Linked DNA regions of Homo sapiens: all the other regions are linked to region 2. The links are contacts of gene promoters, found by promoter capture Hi-C in blood cells and fetal thymus (Javierre and others, 2016). All regions are on one chromosome and are shown on one strand. The core of a region is centred on a gene start or on the middle of the fragment in contact, and the rest is flanking DNA. Distances in the headings are between cores, read along the strand shown.

Region 1 (3,073 bases), core at 459-2,958, 630 kb before region 2:
TCAGCCATAAAAATGTGGTGCTGATACATGCTACTGGATGAAACTTGAAAACACTTTGCTAAGTGAAAGAATTCAGAGACAAAAGGGCAACTATTTTGCATGTTACATTTATATTAAGTATCTAGAATAGGTTAAGTCTTTTTTTTTAACCTTTAAATTCAGGGGTACACGTGCAGATTTATTATATGGGTAAACTTGTGTCATGGAGGTTTGTTGTACAGATTATATTGTCACCGAGGTATTAAGCTTAGTATCCATTAGTTATTTTTCCCGATCCTTTCCCTTTTCCCACCCTCCAGCCTTCGATAGGCCCCCGTGTCTGTCGTTCTTCTCTGTGTGCTCATGCGTTCTCATCATTTAGCTTATACTTTTAAGAGAGAACATGCAGTATTTGGTTTTCTGTTGCTGTGTTGGTTTGCTAAGGATAATGGCCTCCAGCTCCATCCACGTTCCTGCGAAGGACACGATCTCGTTCTTTTTCATGCCTGCATAGTTAGAATAGGTAAGTCTTCAGAGATTAAAAAAAAAAAAAAAAAAAAAAAAAAAACAGATGAATGGTCGCCAGTGGCTGAAGAGAAATGGGAATAGGTAATAACTGCTTAATAGGAAAAGGATTTTGTTGTTGTTGTTGTTGTTTTAGGCTATAGGAATTAGATAAAAGTGGTCACCGTGCAACATTCTGAATGTACTGAATGCCACTGGATGCAAACGAATTGTCCATTTTAAATGCGTAATTTTATTATGTAAGTTTCACCCCAGTTTCTTTTTAAATGGAAAAATATTTAAAGCTCTGCACACTAAAACAACATCATTCAGAAAATCAAGACAAAATTCATAGTCTGGGAAAAAAAATTTGCAAGATATGTATCTGACTAAGGATTCCTATTTTGGATATATAAAGAATTTCTATACTTAGAAATAAGAAGATAGACGACCCACTTTTTAAAAAATCTGGCCAAAATAACTGCTTGTGCACTTCACAAAATAAAAAGCACAATAGCTAGTAATTGCATAAAAAGTAGTCAAATGATTAGCCATCAGCGAATTGCAAATTCTAATATCCATGAGTTACCACAACACACCAATCAGAATGGCTAAAATTAAAAGATTGTCAACACTAACATTTGGCAAGAACATAGAGTAATACAAAATTTCATGCTTTACTGACAGGAGTAAAGAGTTACTAACACTATGTAAAATGTCTGGAAGTGCTTTTTTGAAAGGCAAGTATGTATATACCCTATGATCCAACAACTTCACATCTAGGTCTCTAAGAAAAAAGTAATGCAACACACATTAGAAACAAAAGACTTGACCAAGAATGTTAACAGTAACTTTATTCCTAATGCTCCAGAACTAAGAAGAGCCCTGTTGACACTCAAGAGGAGAGTGGATAATCAAATATTTGTATATGCATACAATGGAATATTGTCAATAAAAATCACCAAACTTCTAATACACACAATATCTGGATGAATCTCCAAATGACTGATTATTCCAGTTAAAAGAAAGAAAAATATCTTTGCCTAAAATAATATATACTGTAGAATTTCTCCTATATAAATTTCTAGAAAAGGAACAGCTAATCTACGGTGAAGAAAATTCATATTAGTGGATGCTTCTGTTGAGGTGGAACTAAACATCAACTGGGAAACGGCATGAGGAAACTTTCTGGAATGATGACAAAGATTTCTAGATTTCTAGATTTCAAAATCTAGATATTGAGTTACACAGGTTTATGCATTTGTCAAAACTTTGATCTCAGGAACTCATGTTGCTAGTAAGGATGAAAATTGTCACAACTACTTTAAAATCTGTGCTTTATTCCAATATTGAAGAACTACGCATGCTGAGATGTCCTAATTAATTCCACTCTCAAATATGTAACCAGGATAAATACATCTTACAGGTTCTAGGATACATCTATAAGAATAGTTAAAGAAACAATTTCCAGTTAAAGAAACTGGAAAAAACTTAAATGGCTATCAACAGAGGAATAAATAACTAAATTGAGATACATATACAACAATGTAAAATGATCAGCTAGAGCTATATCCAATAATATTGATGAATCTTACAAACATAATTTCAAAAGGGAAAACAGGAAACAAGAAGTAATTAAATTGTGACTCATATTTTTTTACAGATTCTGAAAATAAGCAAAAATTAAAACATATTATTTATAGATACATTTTAAAATGCAAAAAGCATTTTCTAAAAAAAGCCAAAAAAAATGTAGAAGCCAGCATGTGGGTAGGAGGAGATAGATTAAGACAAAAATAGAGATATGGGCAAGGCTACCAATCAGTAGGTAATGTCTTAATTTTTTACCTTCCTTCATATTTACTTAAATTGTTGTTTATGTATGTGTGTAAAATTTTAATCTATAAATCTTATTTTAAAGTGGAAAACCTTAGTAACATCTCTTATTATACCCTTTTGTTACTTCTACAAATTTGTATTAACTTACTGCTTTATGGAAATTGAATGGGTGCAGGTCAGCATGTTTATTTTAAAGCACAGTAAATTAAAAGCAATAAATAGCTGGCATACACACACACACGCAGTCATTAGAACACACACACATATAAAATCAAATGATTAAAACAATGTCATAGAAACTATTAAAAATAATACTTAAATATATTAAAAAATCAAATAGTCTACTGTTCAGTGGTTTAATCTATGAGCCTTTTGCGAATGAGATGAAAGGTGGTTATAGTTGCTGTTTCTGCAAATTTGTTTTCTCAAGTTATACAGTAATCACCTTGTTCAAAGTTGGCTGATAATTTTTAACATGTCTTTTTTATGTTTCTGTATGGAAGCGCCTTTAATTCAGCTGGGTTACAAAACATATGTGTCAGATAAAGTTTTTTAAAATGATAAATGGAAGAAATCCAATATACATTTGAGTGCTTGGTATTTCTGACTCCAACACCAATGCCAACATTTCAAAGCGGGTGGGCTTGGGAGTCCTCCACTGTTGTTTTCTTCTCACAAAGAGAGGATCTGCAAATATAGTACTTTCATATCTACTAGTTTGGCAACTGGATTCTATTCTTGAACTGATGGC
Region 2 (3,108 bases), core at 548-3,047:
GCTCCCCGAGCCCTGCGGAGCAGGTCACGACCTCCCCCCGCCCCCGGGACACCGCTCGGCGCCACAGATCAGCCCTGTCGGTGCCGGGAGGCTGGCCGTGGAACCCAGGTCCTGGGGAGCGCACGAACGCGGACAGCAGCGCTGAGAGGGGTCTCCAGGCGCCCGCGCGCCCGGGGCAGGGGGCTGTGGCTCCAGCAAAGGCGCCGTCCTCCTCCCTCTCGTCCCCTCCGCCCCGAGGCTCGGCTTTCCCACATCCCACAGCAGCCCATCCCCGGGACCCAGAGGGCAAGGGGAGGACCGGGCCGAAGAGCGAGGTCTGGGCAGGGTGAGGTGCCAACTTCTCAGGGGGTCGGGCGCGGCTGGCGAGCCCCGAGCAGGGAGAGGAGAGGGCCGCGCTCGCCGGGGCGCGCGGCTCGCGGGCGCGCAGAGCGAGCGGCGCCGGGAAAGGAGCGAGGGCAGGCGAGCAGGCTGGTGGGAAGGGGCGCGGGCGGCGGGGGCTATCCCCCCCGACTCACCTTGCGTTGGTGCAGTCATTGTAGAGGGTCTCGAAGTCCTTCCTGGAGATGAGTTTGCAGCGGTTCACTCCTGGCTGGATGGCGCCCAGTCCCCTCAGGATGCGAACTTGTTCCACATTGCACACCACCGGCGTGATCTCCAGCCGCTTCAGCTTGGTGTAGACCGTATGCAAGCCCCCCACCAAGTGCTTCAGGAACAGGTCGAAAGCCTGGGGCAGGCAGATCAGCTCGCAGCCCTCCACCGTGAAGGAAGCCACTTTGGCCCCCCTCAGATCCACCATTTTGCACTCATTATTCTGAGGGGTGTTTTCCACTGGGGACGGGGTTGAGTACACGGGTTTCCCGGGGAGGGGGCCGCAGCTGCTGCTGCTACTGCTGCTGCTGCTACTACTGCTGCTGCTGCTGCTGCTGCTACTGCTGCTGCTGCTGCTGCCGGTGCTGGCGTTGATGGGGGTGCTGGAAGCGACGCCGCCGCCAGCGCTGATGCCGCCGCCGCCGCCGCCGCTGCCGTTGCTCGCGGCCGCCAGGTTGGGGTTGCAGTTGCTGCCACCGCCGCCGCCGCCACCGCCGCCTCCGTTGCCGCTGCTGCCGCCGCCGCCTCCGCTGCCGCCGCCGCCGCCGCCGCCGCCGGTAGAGGTGACTGTGGCCGCCGCCGCCGCCGCCGAAGCGATGGGCTCCGGGCGGAACAGAGTTGGCCCAGAGGACGCCGGGGGTCCGATGGAAGGAGCCGGAGACGAAGTCGCCGAAGAGGTGGAGGTGGTGGTGCCAGAGGAGGAAGCAGACGTGGAGATTGGGGGTTGAGGGGGGACCAGCTGGGTCGGAGGGATCAAAGCCGCCGGCACTGCCATGGTCACATATAAGGGGAAACAGACGGAGGAGAAGCGAGAGGAAAAGTTGCCACACACCCCCGGGAGGGGAAGGGGAAAAAAGGGGGGAGAAGGAGCGAGGGGGGCAACAACAACTCCGGGAGAGAACGAGAAGGAGAAAGGGAGAGAAGGGGGAGAAAAGGAGGTGAAGGTAATAAAGAGCGAGCGCAAGAGGGGCGAGCACGAGAGGCGCTCTGGAGAGGAACGCACAAAAGTGTCCCGCAAGTCGAAATGCGAGTCCTCTCCGGGGGCTGGGATCGAGGGCTGGTTTGGGGGTGGGGGTGGGGCGGGGAGGGTCGGCTGTTGTTGTGTGGGTCTCGCTCTAGCACAAAGTTAAGGATGAAGGTGAAAAGGAGGAGGTTTGAAGGACTTGGGCTCTCCCTGGCAAGTACATTGATCAAAGATTGAGAGGGGAATGACAGAGAGAAAATGAGCTGAAAAGTGCAGGCTGCCGGCTGGACGAGTTGTTGTTGTCACACGGTGCAGAGGGGAGGAGCTCCGGAAACTTGAAATACCCTTTGAAGCCGCAAAAACCTCACTCACTAGTATTAACCCAAATTATCCAACCAGGAACTCGGAGCAGAGACTCCGAGAGCGCGAGACACTGGAGAGGGAGCGTGCGAGGAAAGGAGGAGGGGAGGGGGAGGATACGGAAAGAAACTGTGGGAGGGACGGAGAGGAAAAGCCGGGGACACAGAAGTGGCGATCGGAAAAGGAGAGGGAGATCATCTACTTCTCTTCTACTACTACCGTTAGATTGCATGTCTCACATTCCATTTCGTCCGCGGGGACTGGTAATTTTTTCCAAAGCTTCTAAACAATCGCCCGCCAACTTAAAGAGGAGCCTGAGCGCGCCGAGCTCTCTCCTTCCAGGATTTAGGATCCATCTCCACGCGTTTTGGCAATGAGCTAGAAACGAAAACACAGCCCCCACTTCACGATTATTCAGAAATTATTTTGAGGAAAATTCACATGTAAGCAAAGCGTAATGTTCTTTTGCATCTGATTGTTTATTTCTCTACTAAATTATTTATTTATATAAAGATAGTGAAAATTCCAGGACAGTTTTCAAGTGGTGAGAAGAAAGTCAGTCCGAAATCGCTTAAGAATAATGGAAAGCTCTGTATTCAATTCCATATTTCCTAATAGGTTGTGGAAAGAAATGCTTGCCTTGATGTGGATGATTTAGAATAACTTCACTGTCTCCCCAAAAGCCAGTCAGAAATACCTGTTAAACCTAGAGCTATCAAGGAGATAAGGTATCCTTGAAGATTTAGAAAGTGGAAAAAGGGTTTTCTTACCCAAAACTCTATAATTAATTCACCTGTCTTACACAGTAACCAACTATCCTCATGTCCTTTAAGACCCAAAGCCAATTGCTAATGTGTTTTTTGGACAACACAATAGTTTTTTTTTTTTTTTTTTCATGTTTGAAAAGTGCTGCTGTAGTTTTGGAAAGTCCTTTTCAATTTGTCAGTAAATATATGTTTTGTAAATAATGGGAAGAACAAAAACAAAGCTCACTAGTTGACTTGTAAAGACTTGGGTAGCTGTGCTTAAAACAACATGAGGCTGAGTTTAGACTGACTCTATTCCTCCTTTCCTTCCTCTTTCCTTTTCTTTTCTTTTCTAACTTGTTGCACTGAAGTATTTATTCAAGGATTTTTGACTAACATATCATTTGAATATGGGTCAAATCTATTTGCTGCTCATGTCTCCAAGTATCT
Region 3 (2,728 bases), core at 135-2,634, 600 kb before region 2:
ACAACCACAGAAACCAATACACATTTTGATTAATTGAGAAAGAGAGTCACTGAGTTCCTATAACAATAGAGGATAACGAGGGAACCAAGTGGGACTGCTTTCTGAAGGAACCACTACCCCTTCTCCAGTTCAGTCACCTAAGGTGCTGTCAAAGTCTTGAGATAAAGATACTGAACAATGTTCTAAACCAGCGGTCCCCAACCTTTTTGCCACCAGAGACCAGTTTTGTGGAAGACAATTTTTCCATGGATGGGGAGGTGGGCGTGGAGGGCACGGTTTCAGTGTGATTCAAGCACATTACACTTATTGTGCACTTTATTTCTATATTATTACATTATAATAGATAATGAAATATTTCTACAGCTCACAATAATGTACAATCAGTGAGAGCCCTGAGCTTATTTTCCTGCAACTAGATGGTCCCTTTTGGGAGTTATGGGAGACAGTAACACATTATCAGGCATTAGATTCTCACAGGAGCGCACAACCTAGATCCCACACTTGTTCAGTTCAAAATAGGGTTTGGGATCCCATGAAAATCTAATGTCACCACTGATCTGACAGAAGGTGAAGCTCAGGAAGTAACGTGAGTAATGGGGAATGGCTGTAAATGCAGATGAAGCTTCCCTTGCTTGCCCACCACTCACCTCCTGCTGTGGGCCGAGTTCCTAACAGGCCACGGACAGGACTCCTGTTCTAAACCACCCTGTGCTTGGCTGAGGTGACTGTCTTCCTTACTCCTACTTGTAGTCTTATGTAAAATCTCCGTTTATCAAGGCTGTAAAGCAATATAAAGGATGAGTTCAGGAAACCGTATCTCATAATAGAAATATACTGTTGGTGATTAAAGAGTTTCTAGAACAACTGAAATGTAATTATGGTGATGAAACTGTTACTCCAGGGAAGAATAATTGGAAAGAGTTTTTGACTAAAAAGTTTAACCCTAATAAATTAAGTTATATTCCCTGATGAAGATGACAACAGAAAGCTAACAACCTGTATGACATCCACAAAATGGAACCCAATGCTAGCCTTTCTCTAATACTTCCTAGAGGACAGATCATTTGGTGCATTTAGTAAATATACCAGCTTGTGGATTCCTTAATTTGAAGACAAATTAAACCTCTTAGTGATGTACAAAATAGATTGAAGGGACAAGAGACTAGTCAATTAATGTCATAATATCAAACTATTTTAATTGATGTAACTTTAACATATATTTTAATAAATAGATTAATTGTATATTAAAATTCTCATGATTATTCCCTAATGTTTATTTTACACACACTTTTTAAATTGATTATCTATTTTTCAAGAGATGCTGTTATTTGAAATTGATTCTATGTTAATTAGAGAGATTGATAGCTTCACAGTATTGAGTGTTTCCATGAATGGGATATATGTCTTAAAATCTTGATTAAAGACCCTCAGTAGCATAAAAGTTTTATTTATTTAGCACTTCCAAAGTTCTTATTTTCCCCTAAGATGTTTTACATATATGTCTTGTTCCTGTGAGTGGAAACTCTTCTTCAGTTACATTTTTTAACTGATTTTTGGCTTATATATGACTGCTTTTTAAGTAGCCACTGTGCATACTTCTTTTTGTTTCTATTTTTTCAAATAATTGTATTTTGTCAGAAATATAAAATATTGTTGGCAAAAGGATTTTGCCTTCTTCTTTAAAAGTGTCATATTTCTCTATACTCTGTGTAGATTAATTGCATTGGTTCATACTTCCAGAAAATGTTTGAATAATAATGATAATAGTGGGCCTGCTTCTCAAGGTCGTGACTTAAGTAGAAAAGTTTTAAGATGATTTTTTGTCTGGCATATTTTCTGTCATGTTGTAGAGACAATCTGGATGTTTATTTTCAAGATTCACTTTTTAATCATGTGTTAATGTTTAGTTTTATCAAATGCCTTATCAGCATCCATAGAAAGTATCATTTTATTGCCTTGACATTTTGTCATGTTGACATACCTTAGTAAATTTTCTAATTTTGAACTAAACTTCTATTTCTGATATAAATCCCATTTGTTCACATTAATATTCTCTACAGTCTATTCACAGATATACTTTTTAAAATTCTTTTTTATATATGTATATCTCATTTATAAGTCTAATTTTGTGTGTGTTACTCTAATTGTAAGCTTTGGATATAAATAGAATGCTGCATTTGTAAAAAGTGATTATAGGTTCCTTTTGTCCTTCATTCACTGTGCTCTTAAAAATTTCAAATAAGGCCAGGCATGGTGGCTCATGACTGTAATCCTAGTGCTTTGGGAGGCTTAGGCAGGAGGATCACTTGAGGCCAGCAGTTTGGGACAATCTGGGAACATAGTAAGATATCTCTACACACATACAAATTTATTTTTATTAGCCAGGCTTAGTGGCACACAACTGTAATTCCAGCTACTTGGGAGGCTAAAGTGGGAGGATCACTTCAGCCTAGGATGTCAAGGTTACAGTGAGCTATGATTGTGCCACTGCTCTCCAGCTTGGGCAACAGGGAGAGAACTTGTCTCAAAAGAAAAAGTTTCAAATAGCATGAGGATCTGTTCTTTATATTTTTTATAAAATTAATCTACAGAGATGTTTTGTTCTATTGGGCTTTTTAATTAGCTATTGTATAACTTGTCCATTTGTTTTTGAGTAATGAATTTGGTTTTATTTTATTTTTTATTTTCTTAAACTCAGTGGCAATAAATGAATTTGTTTAGTTTCTTT
Region 4 (3,082 bases), core at 298-2,797, 560 kb before region 2:
ATGGCTTTTATTTTTTATTTGCTTATGTCTACTGTAAAATTTTCTAGCATCCATAATATTATATTTTCTAATCTCTATTGGGGTCAAATGATGTTTATACATGTTGAGAACTTTGATATAGTCAGTTTTGCTTCAAGTAAAATAATACCTTCATTCAGTCACTTGCAAAGTAGCATAAAGCACAGTGATTTGCCATGTAATGGTAAAACAGCCTAGTACTCACACAAAATACAGTAAACATTTTAAAAAATGAATAGATACTTTTAGCATAGCTTCCTTTTTTGTTTTTGTTTTGTTTTGTTTTTTCTTTTGAGACAGAGTCTCACTCCACCACCCAGGCTAGAGGGCAGTGGCACGATCTCGGCTCACTGCAACCTCCGCCTCCTGGGTTCAAGAGATTCTCCGCCTCAGCTTCCCGAGTAGCTGAGACTACAGAAGCCCACCACCACGTCCAGCTATTTTGTTGTTGTTGTTGTTGTTGTGTTTTTTAGTAGAGATAGGGTTTCATCATGTTGGCCAGGCTGGTCTCAAACTCCTGACCTCAGGTGATGCGCCCACCTCAGCCTCCCAAAGTTCTGGGATTACAGATGTGAGCCATCGTGCCTGGCCTCAGCACAGTTTTCTGCAACACTTGTTTATTATAAAGAGCTATGTGTAAATTTTTCATTATATGCCTGTAGCACTTAGAAAATAAAAGAACAATAGTTACATGTTTACCGCCCAATTATCCAATACTGTATATATTTTTTGAAGTATTATCTATTACCTAATGGTTCACACTAGTTATGTTTTTGGATTTAGCAAATAATTAATTTCAAGGACATTTAGGGAGTACTCTTCGCTTTATTTTTCTTTACACCAGTGGGAATTACGATGATTCTGATGTGATTGCTTCAATGCCCCTTCACCCTCAGCTAAAGCAGAGGGCTGTGGAATGAGCACTTTATGTGGAGTCAAGGCAGCTGGCCTGTATTCCAGTCTCACTCTCTGCCTTCGAGTGTAAACATAAACTAAAGTCACTCTATACCCTGAGACCTCCCCAGCAAAAGTGAAATGTCAAGCTGCACGAACTCCCAGGTCTTTACTTTCATTTTCAGAGGAATAACATATTAAATATATTTGCACACAATTGAACAAAAATTTAATTTTGTAAATAGTAAGTCACCATCTTGCTATTAATAATTCCCTCTCTTTCTCTAAGAAAAGCATTTTTTTATTAAGTAAAATAAGCTTTTAATTCATAACTTTGGATGTGTAGGAATTGCACGTTTTTATACTTTTATCATTTACTTTTTCCTTCAAATTACCATTTCTCCAGCTTTGCAGGAAACTTCACTTCCATGACTCCTGAAGTCATTCTCTTTCTCATTTTGAGGCCTTATGTTATGCCCATTCATTGGAAGGAGGTATTGGCCATATAGGTCCAACAAAATTATTACCACTGAGACATGTTTTGTTAATTTCATGAAAAAGTATACATAAAATAGAGAAAGAAGAAAACAAACTAATACAAGTAATAAAACACTAGTATTGCATTGATGTCAAAATTAAAGAGTAAGTGAAAAATAAAAATAATATTATTCACTAATTTTACTAATTAGTGAATTAGTAAAAATACTAATTCAGTGAACCTAACCATACATTTTTAAATGACAAATGTAAAAATTGCTTGTCTTTAATATCATAAATATATTATTAGTCAATTATTATCAAATTAATAATTAAAGAAAAATTACTTCAAATATTAAAACTATTTGAAAAATGTAAAACACCTGTGTATGAGTGTGTGTGTATTAGTAATCAAAACAACATTTCTCTAGCCAGAAAATGGTAACTACCAAACTGTAAATAGCATTTTTCATAGTGAAGCTTTAGATTTATTTTCTTTAATATCAGAATGAATGTCTACTAGCACCATTTCTTAGTCAACATTGTATTTGAAATCCTAATAAATACAATTTGAAATAAAGCAAGAAAAATATGACATATAAGGATTAGAAAGAAGGTAACAAATTTCATGATGTATTACCCATATTATTTCCAGAGAAACTATCCAAAAGTTGTTTACTCAATCTACTGAAATTAGTAAAATTTCAAATGAAATTTTGAAAAAGCTCAATATATAAAACTAGCAACATCCCTTATTCTTTCAAAAAAATTTGAATATGTCATTAAAAAGTATTTAAATTCCAATAACCAAAAAAACAAAAACATTTGGAAGGTATTTTGGGATAAATTTCATGACACATATGAACGATTACAAAAGCAAAAACTCTATAAATAATCTTTGAAAACATGAAAATGTTTTTAATAACTGCACAGATATTTTATGTTCTTAAATAGAAAGATTTATTTTTGAATTAATTTTTTCCCAATTTAATGTCAGAAAAATATCAAGAATATTTAATAACTTAAGCTGATTGCCAAATTTATATGGATGAGTAATGCAGCGATAAAAGCCAAGATAATTTTGAGGAAGTAGAGCCAAGAAGGACATAGTGGAGAAGATAGTGGAGAAGGAGTGAAAAAAAGAAAGTGGAGAAAAGGGTGAAGGAGGGAAGAGAATAATAAGAAACAAGAAATGAAAAGAGAAAAGATGAAGAGAAAAAGTAATATATAGGAGGAGAAAAAAGGAAGAGTGTAAAAAGTGGTAATAGTAACATTGAACATCTGCTACTAACTGTCCATACAAATTATAATACTACCACAAATTAAGGAACATATTGAAACAGGGAGAAACAATTAAAATAATAGAAATTATTGGAATATCCTTATATACAGTTGTTTATTTATATATATATATATATATATATATATATAGTTGTTCATATATGTATAGTTGTTATATGCCAAAGTGGTATTACAACTAAGTAATGAAAGGGTGTATTGTTTAATAAGTTGGAATGGGACAATTGATAATTCATTTATTTTTTAAAAATCTATCAAATAATACTCAGAAAAAAACACAGATAACTATAACTTCCTGATAGGAGACATAAAGCACACAGAAGAAATTTAAAAAGAAAAAACTTATTAGAATATGTAGAAAAATCAATTTCACAAACAGCATATGTAAAATTTT
Region 5 (2,828 bases), core at 252-2,751, 610 kb before region 2:
ACATTTTCAGAACAAAATGTGATATTGTATATATATTCCATTCCATGGACTTCACCTAAGTTTTTCTAAAGCAAAGATAACTAACCTCTATGATTTTTATAAATTCTGACAGTATTTCAATTTTAAATTATTTTCTTATTATATTCTAAAACTTGGAAATTAAAATACCAGAAAATAAAATTTTCTCTTATAAAATAAAAAAAAACCCTGAAAAATCATTGAGCACCTTTTCCTATATTTAATTAGTAAGTATAATTTAGATCACTTGACTTCTCATTTGAAGATGTTTCTGCAGACAGAGTTATTATTTTTGTAGAGAGAAGCTACAAAATTCAGTGCATGAACTGCAGTTCTTTCCACACTATTACACTGGACATGCCTGTTAGTCTCTGGAAGGCTTGTCACTCTTATGACTATGTAGAAACATTTTGTTTGAGTTTGAAGAAGACGATTGCATTTTGATGATTTGTTTTGCCTCCTGTATCTGACTCTTTATTCTTGAAATATATTCTTTCCAACGATGCCATCATCAAAAAGGGGCATTTTTGTGATGACAGTAAGAATACATCTGACGAAATAGCTACTGGATTCATCATATTTATAAAGACAGTAATTATGACTTTGGCATTAATTGTGGCCATTGGGGTTTTTTTATTCTTGCCCTTGCCAGTAGGCCCTAAATCTAGGCTTCAATTTCTTTTGCATTAACTCTGCTCAAATATAATGATTACCATTTAACTCAGTGGTTACATAATCCTAGTGAAATTTTAATGTGGACATCTTGCATTAACTTTCTTCCCTTTAACAACAACAAAAAAGGAAAAGGTGGCCCCTAAATAAATGAAACTCAATTTCACGGCACATTATCTCTTTCAATTCTTTCCTCACAGCTTTCATTTTCATTAAAATCACAGACAACCATAAATTAATAATTACTTCAGGTTCACTAAATGCAGGCCGTACTATTTAGCTCTTGCTTTCCTACAGTGGCCCTTCTTGTTCATGCTGGAAAAATGTTAATTTAGATAATATGGCTTGCCCCTTGTCTTATAATTCTGTTTTGCAGTTTCACTGATCTATAATGGTCTGTTCTTATTAAATAGTATTAACTTTATCTTTTGTTAAATCAAGCTTTACACTTTGCTTGGAAGATAACTGTTGCAAACTTTCAGTTGAAATGTGTCATTATCTATATATCTATTATATTTCAATTGGTCTCAAAATGCTTTGTGTTTTTTACTGACTTGCTTGTGATTCCATGCACTCATAAATGTTTTGTCCATTAGCTAAAAGTGTGTGTTAGAAGCTCTTACATGGAGAATCAAGATATGGAAACAAAATTCTAAGCCTTAATAATTATGAGAAATTCACATAAGCTATATTTTAAAAGATTTAGGTATTTTTGTCTGATTCACTTAAAGAAGCAGCGACTAAAAATTCAATTCAACTGTTTTTGTTGTTTCTCTGATATTTGAAAACTCTGATTAGCCTCAAGACAAGTTACTGTATTGTTTACTTAAAACGCTACTTCCTTATACAACGTTTTAAGATATGCATCTATTTTTACAGAGCTTCCAGAAGGAAAGCAGTTACACAATCATAGACTAGAACACTGAGAACAATAAAATAGAAGATTTGCCAACTAACATGGAAGTTAACAGTTTAGTCTCTGGCAATGTGACTTTTGAGAATGCTTTCACTTTCTTAAGTTTAGGTAAATCTAGTGGTTGATTTGAACCAAATAGAACACCCTCAATACTTTAGAATGCATGCTACCGTGAATAATGTTTCATTTAAGTCAAATAAGTTTAAATTAGACTATAGCAAAAAAAAAAATGGTTAAAAACCTGTCTATATATCCAAGTTTATCTCAAGCTTTTGGGAAATCAAGCAGTTTAATGAAAGATATGATAGAGAGGTCTCACCTTTCCCCCAAAGTATAAAACACACATCATCCAACACAATAGTGCTCTCAAAGAAATCCGTAAATATTCCCACCTTCTGTCCAGTGGAGCAAACATTCCTTGTTACAATATTTCCCCTTTTACTTTGGATTGCTATAAATCAATTCTGTTCGTATTATCCATATTGTATAGAAACCACATACTGCATGATTGGAAGATGTCATATTCCTGTCTGCTCAGTTATTAAATAATATGCTGTATACAAATAAATTATTTTTGAAGAAATATATTGCCACAACTTATTTGGTGAATGAACTCATTTCAATAAGTAGATTGTTGACTCCTTCATCCAGTTTATGGCAATTTTTAAAATAATACTGTGGACTGACTTTCTTCACTGTTAATCCAGGTAGGTAATTGCCTCCAAATTCTCTAATTTGTATTGATGTTACTAAGTGGTAGAGAAACATGACATTTTCATTATTTAATTTTCCAATGACTATTTTTCCTAACCATGATAAATCACTTAAGTCATGTTTACTAATGATTATATCCTAAAAATTTCCATGTGTATTGAAACCATAATTGCCCTGAACCCCACAATCTGAAAAGTCCCAGAGGAAGCATTTGAAATGAACTCAAACAATACAATAGTTTGGAATTGATCTGGGAATCTCATTTCCCTCTTCGTATCAAAGATTAACTCTGCTTGCTATAAATATTATGATACTATTTTGCACGTATTATCACTCAATGTTTTAGCCAAAACATAACTCGCCCAATAATACAAATTAATTTTACAGGCATTGTACTTTTAACCCTTATATTCTGATATTTTTTAATACATACGAGAAGAAATGGAAGAATCTTAATGTGTTATAATATTTAAAACTTTTTATTCTTTCTATTTTTCAATTTAAAAGA
Region 6 (2,767 bases), core at 140-2,639, 900 kb before region 2:
TAAATTTCCTCCTCCGAAGAAACATTATCATGTAAGTGACTGAACATTGTTGTGTATTTTGGTATCTTCTCAGTGGTATTGATTCCCTCCTAAGCATGACCGTTCCTGGAAACCTATGAGCAACTGTGAGTGAGGATCCAACCACTTCCCCTATCACTCACAATAATAGTGTTTGTTTGGTTACTCTAGAATTCCCTCACCTCTCTATGCTTCATCCCTTCTACTCCAAGGTAGACTTAAATAATATGAAGAAAGTTTATGTTTGCTTTCTTCTAGAAATTAAAGATTTTTTCCAGAAGAAATTATATTATGGAATTAATGATGCAAGAAGTTGCGTTGATATGAGGTACTACCTTTTAGGCATTTTAATTAAGCTTTCTATACTTTGAAGCTGTTTGGGGAGAGGAACATACTGCATTATTTTTTAATGCAAACCTTTGGGAGGTTCATGATACAGAGGCTAGACTTTAAAGAGCATTGCTCTTTATGTAATTCTGGGTTGTGCTTATATAGAGCTTGACATTATTAGACGACACTAAAAGATAAAATACAAATTCTATACCCTCCAAATTTAAAAGGATCACTGTAACTCTGATAAATGTCAAGTATCAATAGTAGTACGCTTAAACAGTCCTGAAGAGACAAAAACTGATATGATAGGCACAGCCCTGCATTATTGAGACAGCAATGATAAAGAACAACACTTAAGAGATTTTACTAACAGTTTAAGAGTTCTGGCACGGTATAGCCTGTGTATAATGAGGCTTCTAAACGTTCAGCTCACAGAACTAGCGTTTGTGGAGATAAAATACTTTACAAACTCTGTTTCATTAATCTTTACAATATCTCTGTGAAGAATTATGAACACCAATCAACAGATTACAGAGTGACAGCAGTAAAATATTGGATGAATTGCCAATCCTCTCAAAGAGAGCCCTGAAGATTCTCCTTACAATGAAGTTATTTGTTTTCCTTTTTAAAATACCAGTCCTCTAAGACCAAGTTAATATGTTAAACCCTACAAAGAACCAATATGTTTTGCTTTGTTGGGAAGAAAAAAAAAGTGACTTCTCGATAGAGAAGGCCTGAAATCACAACATTTTGAATTCAATAATAGGTTAAACCAATATTTCAATGCCAAATTACATGAATATACAAAAGCAAATCTTCTGAAAAATGTACTGTGTATTATGTGACTCTTTTCAAGGCCTAGTCTAGTGTCCATATTAATGCCAGATAAGAATTTCAATCTTGCAGTAAATTAGTCTAATCATATTATTAAATAACCCATTCAAGTGATTTTAACAGCACATTGTTTGCATTGTATTATTAACAGCCCTTCAAAGGGCAGACAACATCATCACCATCAATAAATAGCTATTGACCACTTACTGTGTATAGCTTGAATTTTTGAAAGATCATATTGTTTCCAATTTGTTAAGCTAATCTTTTATAGAATTTTTTCATGTTAACAAATGAAATTCATTTCATATCCATATGGCAAAAATTAGTCCAGGGCTTCTAAAAAATTTAGAAACCATTTTAACAATTGGATTTTATAATGTATTCAATGGTTTATGAAAACAATGAATATAGAAAGGAAATTATAGAAGCATTCAAGAGCTATGTAATAGCACCAATATCTGCTAAGTTGTAAAAGAGATATAAATTCTCCCATTTCTCCCCACCAATGTCCATACAATTAAAAGCATAAGTTATTCTGCTGTATGTATTGGTTCTGCCAATTCTGTCCATTTACCACTGCTGCATCCCCCGGCCCCTGTAAACAGCATCATTGTGTACAGTTTTACAGGTTTTAATTGTACAACTCTTTAGGAGACCATACACTTTGCAGTCTAGGAGAATGGCACCACCTAGAGGTGTGCAGTACACAAGCTGCACAATCAGACATACACACCAAGTCACCATCACCTCTCATCTGAACTACTCCAATAGTTTCTTATTTTACCTGCTTCCTCTGATCATTGTCTACTGATCCTTTAAAAATGTACAACGCACCATGATATTTTTCTATGTATAACCCTTCCATAGCTTTCCATTGCATTTCAAATACAATTAAAGTATCTTATCTTTTCAATAACTGTTTTTCTACTTAAAGTTCACTTTTTATGGTTAACCCTTTCATCCAAAATAACTCAAATGACACCTCATCAAAGAAGCCTTCTCCAACCACCCATTTTAAATGAGCAACTTTATTTCCTTCTATCCCTTTGTTCCATGTCTTGACAACTGATTAATTTTCTTTATGGCACTTCTTAAAATTGACAGCAAGTCTTATATTTGTTTACTTTTTTGTTATGAGTGAATGAATACAAAATTTAAACTTATGAATATTATTTTTTGTGCTTTACCAACATATATCATAATTTTATTTGGTTGATTGATAAGCTTTGTTTCCACTGAAGAAGATACTACATAATTGAATTATTATCATTATAAGGACTGGATGAATAAGAAAGAAAAAAAGAATGACCAGATGAAAACATGTAGTAATGTAATTGCCCTTTCAATATACCATGAAGCATTCATTGATTTTCTCAGGGCTTCAGTTTTCTTATCTGCAAAATGAGGAAGTTAGAGTACATATTCACTTTTTCCACTTCTGAAACTCAACGATTCTATGATCTCAGGCAAATATTTTCACTTTTTGTAACCCAGTTTCCTCACAGATCTAATATAGATAACTGTTCTGCCACTCACATACCAATGGCAAAGAGAGAAACTGATAAATGTAAAATGATTGGCA
Region 7 (2,736 bases), core at 60-2,559, 570 kb before region 2:
AGAAAGAAAAGTACGCTTGGACAAGACACAAACAGGCATGTGAAAGTCAGGTGTAATGTTTCGCCTTGATCCTAGGACTTGATAGGCTGGTCCCTTCCCCATGATTCTTCCCTTATGGTGGGCTTTCCACATGAACAGTGTCCTTACGCTTGGGAGGTAAGTACACACAGTGTTTAGGAAGTTGTATGCATGCCCATCTGCGGCTTTTTTCCCTTTTCTGGTGGTGTGTCCCAGGAAGGTCCAACTTTGCCATTTTGTCTCTTAATGCACATGCCCAGTAAGTTGCCTCTCCCTGGAATCTGCATTCATTTAACACTTTAGTGCAACAGGTGTGGACCATCAGGAAATGGTCTCTCCCTGGTGCCAGCTGCCAATTTATCACATTTAGAGAGGCGATGTGATAACTGCTGAACCAGCACCCAACATTCCTTGTGGGTTGGGGAGAGCTCTCTCCTGCCCAGCTTATGCCTGTCTAACTCCCTGTAACAGGACAACTGGGAAGGTTATTAAGCAAGATGATTCAACTTAGACAAATGAGGATTTTTTAAATGAGCTACCTCCCAGTGGAGCCACCTTTATTTATTTATTTATTTATTTATTTTTATTTTTATTTTTATTTTTTGAGACAGAGTCTCGCTCTGTCGCCCAGGCTGGAGTGTAGTGGTGTGATCTCGGCTCACTGCAAGCTTCGCCTCCTGGGTTCACGCCATTCTCCTGCCTCAGCCTCGTGAGTAGCTGGGACTACAGACACCTGCCACTATGCCTGGCTAATTTTGTGTTTGTATTTTTAGTAGAGATGGGGTTTCACCGTGTTAGCCTGGATGGTCTCGATCTTCTGACCTTGCAATCTGCCTGCTTCGGCCTCCCAAGTCACCTTATTTAATACCTTCCTTCTTGTGGTTTGCCACGTGGACATAATGATCAGAACTGCAGCAGCCCCACTGGCCTTCCAAGTGAACTTAGCAATAAGTTCACAGGAATGGTGCAGAATAAAGATAAAGATGTAAGCTTTTGATGGCATTGGAGTCTTTTCTATCAGCCAGGAACTATTTGACATCTCAAAGCGAAAAATAAATCTACATATTTTTTAAGAATCTACTTTCTAAGTCTCTGTTATTTCCAGACTATCACAATCCTAATGTACATAGAATCTGTTTCATGGGCATGCAATAATACAATATTGGAGCCTAAAATGTGTTCCCAATATTTTAGGCTGAGAACCTGGCAATACATACTTCATTGATAAAAGATTTGGCCAAAATGCTGTCTGCCACACTTTGGAAAGCAGACAAAAGGCTGTCAGGAAAGCAGATCAAATACCCTTAAGGGAAAGTGTTAAAAAATAAAATAAAATGTTGTCTGTGCTAGCTGTTTCTTGTTGCTTTCAACAGAGTTCTAGGAGAGATGAGCTCAACTTTGATCCAGCTTATCTGCAGGCAGAGATGTTAGGGAGGAATTCTCTCTCTCTCTCGTCTGCAGTGTAAAAGCATTAAATTTGGAGCCTTTCAGAATTAAAAAAAAAAAAAAGACAAGTGCTCTGCATTCCAAACTGAAACCCTTGTAAGTTTACTCCAAAGAAACAGCCTTAGCAGGAGATTAATCACTGGTATTAAAGCTTTTAAAAAGACCTTCCATGAATAGTTCTTTGTCAGACAATGGGAAGCAAGCTAGAAGCAAATATCATATTAAGTATGTTGTCTTCCCACCCAAGTCTATCCTTTTAAGTGGTCTCAAGGTACAATCAGGCTTAAAAACTACAAGATCTGAAAGCCAAAAGAAACCACAAGCTTGGACTGCACCTGCCTATTACTGTTGAAATTTTAATAGTACCTGAAACTGCACTGAAATGAATTGGGCTGCAGGATATTTGGGGGCTTAATTAAGGATGCTTTCTATTGCCCACCTTAGAAATAGCCATGGAGAGCTCAGGAAAAGGAAGAACCTACCCAAAAGGGTGGAGCAAGAGATAAGAGCAGACAATGGAAGTAGCGCTTCTATAGAGAGCAGAAGTAGGAACAGGTAAGGTAACCAGGGACTCTTATATTACTAGGTTAGGGGGCTTAACTATTTATGCCCAGCAGAATCTTACTATTATGATGAGCTAATGAGCACAATTTCCTATTTTACATCTGTTCCTGCTGCTCCTTTTCTTCTGCGTGTGTTTCAGACAGATAAGTTTTCATTTAGTCTAGTAAGTCCCCAAACAATAAAGAGCTAGAGGTACACCTAATAGAGTGGTCAGCAAACATCCAGTGACCTTACATATTGAGCTATATGCATACTGGACAAACTTCCTTGCAGCTAGCTATAACAGTGTGACTAAGTTCCAGGCAATAAGTTATATATAGAAGAACAGAGCACTTTAGGAAAAATACAAACCTGTGCTCACTTTCTCCTTTTCTTAGTTCATTCTAATAACTAAAATGCAATTGGGATGGTGGAAGCTCCATTGGCCATCTTAGATCAGTGAGAGCCATAGCTAACGGTGGCCAAGCAAAGAGCTGGAAGACAGCAAGGGGCTGCTGTGTCAGCTGTGGACTACTTTTATTAGACTTACTTTATTAGAAAGAAATGATCTTCTTTTCAGTTAAGTCATTATTATTTACGGCATTTCATGTGCATGTGTGTGTGTGTGTGTGTGTGTGTGTGTGTGTGTGTAATGTGGCCAGATCAATCCATTCTATATATTACCTTATACAAATAAAAGGGAGAATGGGTTTGATGATAATTTTTGGA

The links. Contacts are between HindIII fragments. The CHiCAGO score rates a contact against its expected background, and 5 or more counts as called.
Region 1: a contact is called between a fragment that was not itself captured here and the fragment with the promoter of DACH1 in region 2, in 1 of 17 cell types (endothelial precursors). The highest score is 6.4, in endothelial precursors.
Region 3: a contact is called between a fragment that was not itself captured here and the fragment with the promoter of DACH1 in region 2, in 1 of 17 cell types (monocytes). The highest score is 6.8, in monocytes.
Region 4: a contact is called between a fragment that was not itself captured here and the fragment with the promoter of DACH1 in region 2, in 5 of 17 cell types (M0 macrophages, erythroblasts, M2 macrophages and 2 more). The highest score is 7.2, in M0 macrophages.
Region 5: a contact is called between a fragment that was not itself captured here and the fragment with the promoter of DACH1 in region 2, in 2 of 17 cell types (endothelial precursors and monocytes). The highest score is 11.8, in endothelial precursors.
Region 6: a contact is called between a fragment that was not itself captured here and the fragment with the promoter of DACH1 in region 2, in 1 of 17 cell types (fetal thymus). The highest score is 5.0, in fetal thymus.
Region 7: a fragment that was not itself captured here is called in contact with the fragment with the promoter of DACH1 in region 2 in 4 of 17 cell types (monocytes, M0 macrophages, fetal thymus and 1 more); the score reaches 12.7 in monocytes.

What each region holds. Positions count from the first base shown.
Region 1 is chr13:71,234,387-71,237,459 of GRCh38, forward strand. No RefSeq gene overlaps it. Among named protein-coding and RNA genes, the nearest start is that of LINC00348, 220 kb to the left of the region's middle. The HindIII fragment of the contact is 2,929 bases long and covers 245-3,073 here.
Region 2 is chr13:71,865,407-71,868,514 of GRCh38, forward strand. It overlaps DACH1 (dachshund family transcription factor 1), which reads right to left and starts at 1,798. Exons shown (of 11, transcript NM_080759.6): 1 at 516-1,798. The coding sequence starts at 1,363. The HindIII fragment of the contact is 4,223 bases long and covers 1-2,189 here.
Region 3 is chr13:71,269,223-71,271,950 of GRCh38, forward strand. No RefSeq gene overlaps it. Among named protein-coding and RNA genes, the nearest start is that of LINC00348, 260 kb to the left of the region's middle. The HindIII fragment of the contact is 1,529 bases long and covers 621-2,149 here.
Region 4 is chr13:71,309,087-71,312,168 of GRCh38, forward strand. No RefSeq gene overlaps it. Among named protein-coding and RNA genes, the nearest start is that of LINC00348, 300 kb to the left of the region's middle. The HindIII fragment of the contact is 639 bases long and covers 1,229-1,867 here.
Region 5 is chr13:71,250,792-71,253,619 of GRCh38, forward strand. No RefSeq gene overlaps it. Among named protein-coding and RNA genes, the nearest start is that of LINC00348, 240 kb to the left of the region's middle. The HindIII fragment of the contact is 744 bases long and covers 1,130-1,873 here.
Region 6 is chr13:70,962,453-70,965,219 of GRCh38, forward strand. No RefSeq gene overlaps it. Among named protein-coding and RNA genes, the nearest start is that of LINC00348, 51 kb to the right of the region's middle. The HindIII fragment of the contact is 2,035 bases long and covers 373-2,407 here.
Region 7 is chr13:71,292,227-71,294,962 of GRCh38, forward strand. No RefSeq gene overlaps it. Among named protein-coding and RNA genes, the nearest start is that of LINC00348, 280 kb to the left of the region's middle. The HindIII fragment of the contact is 607 bases long and covers 1,007-1,613 here.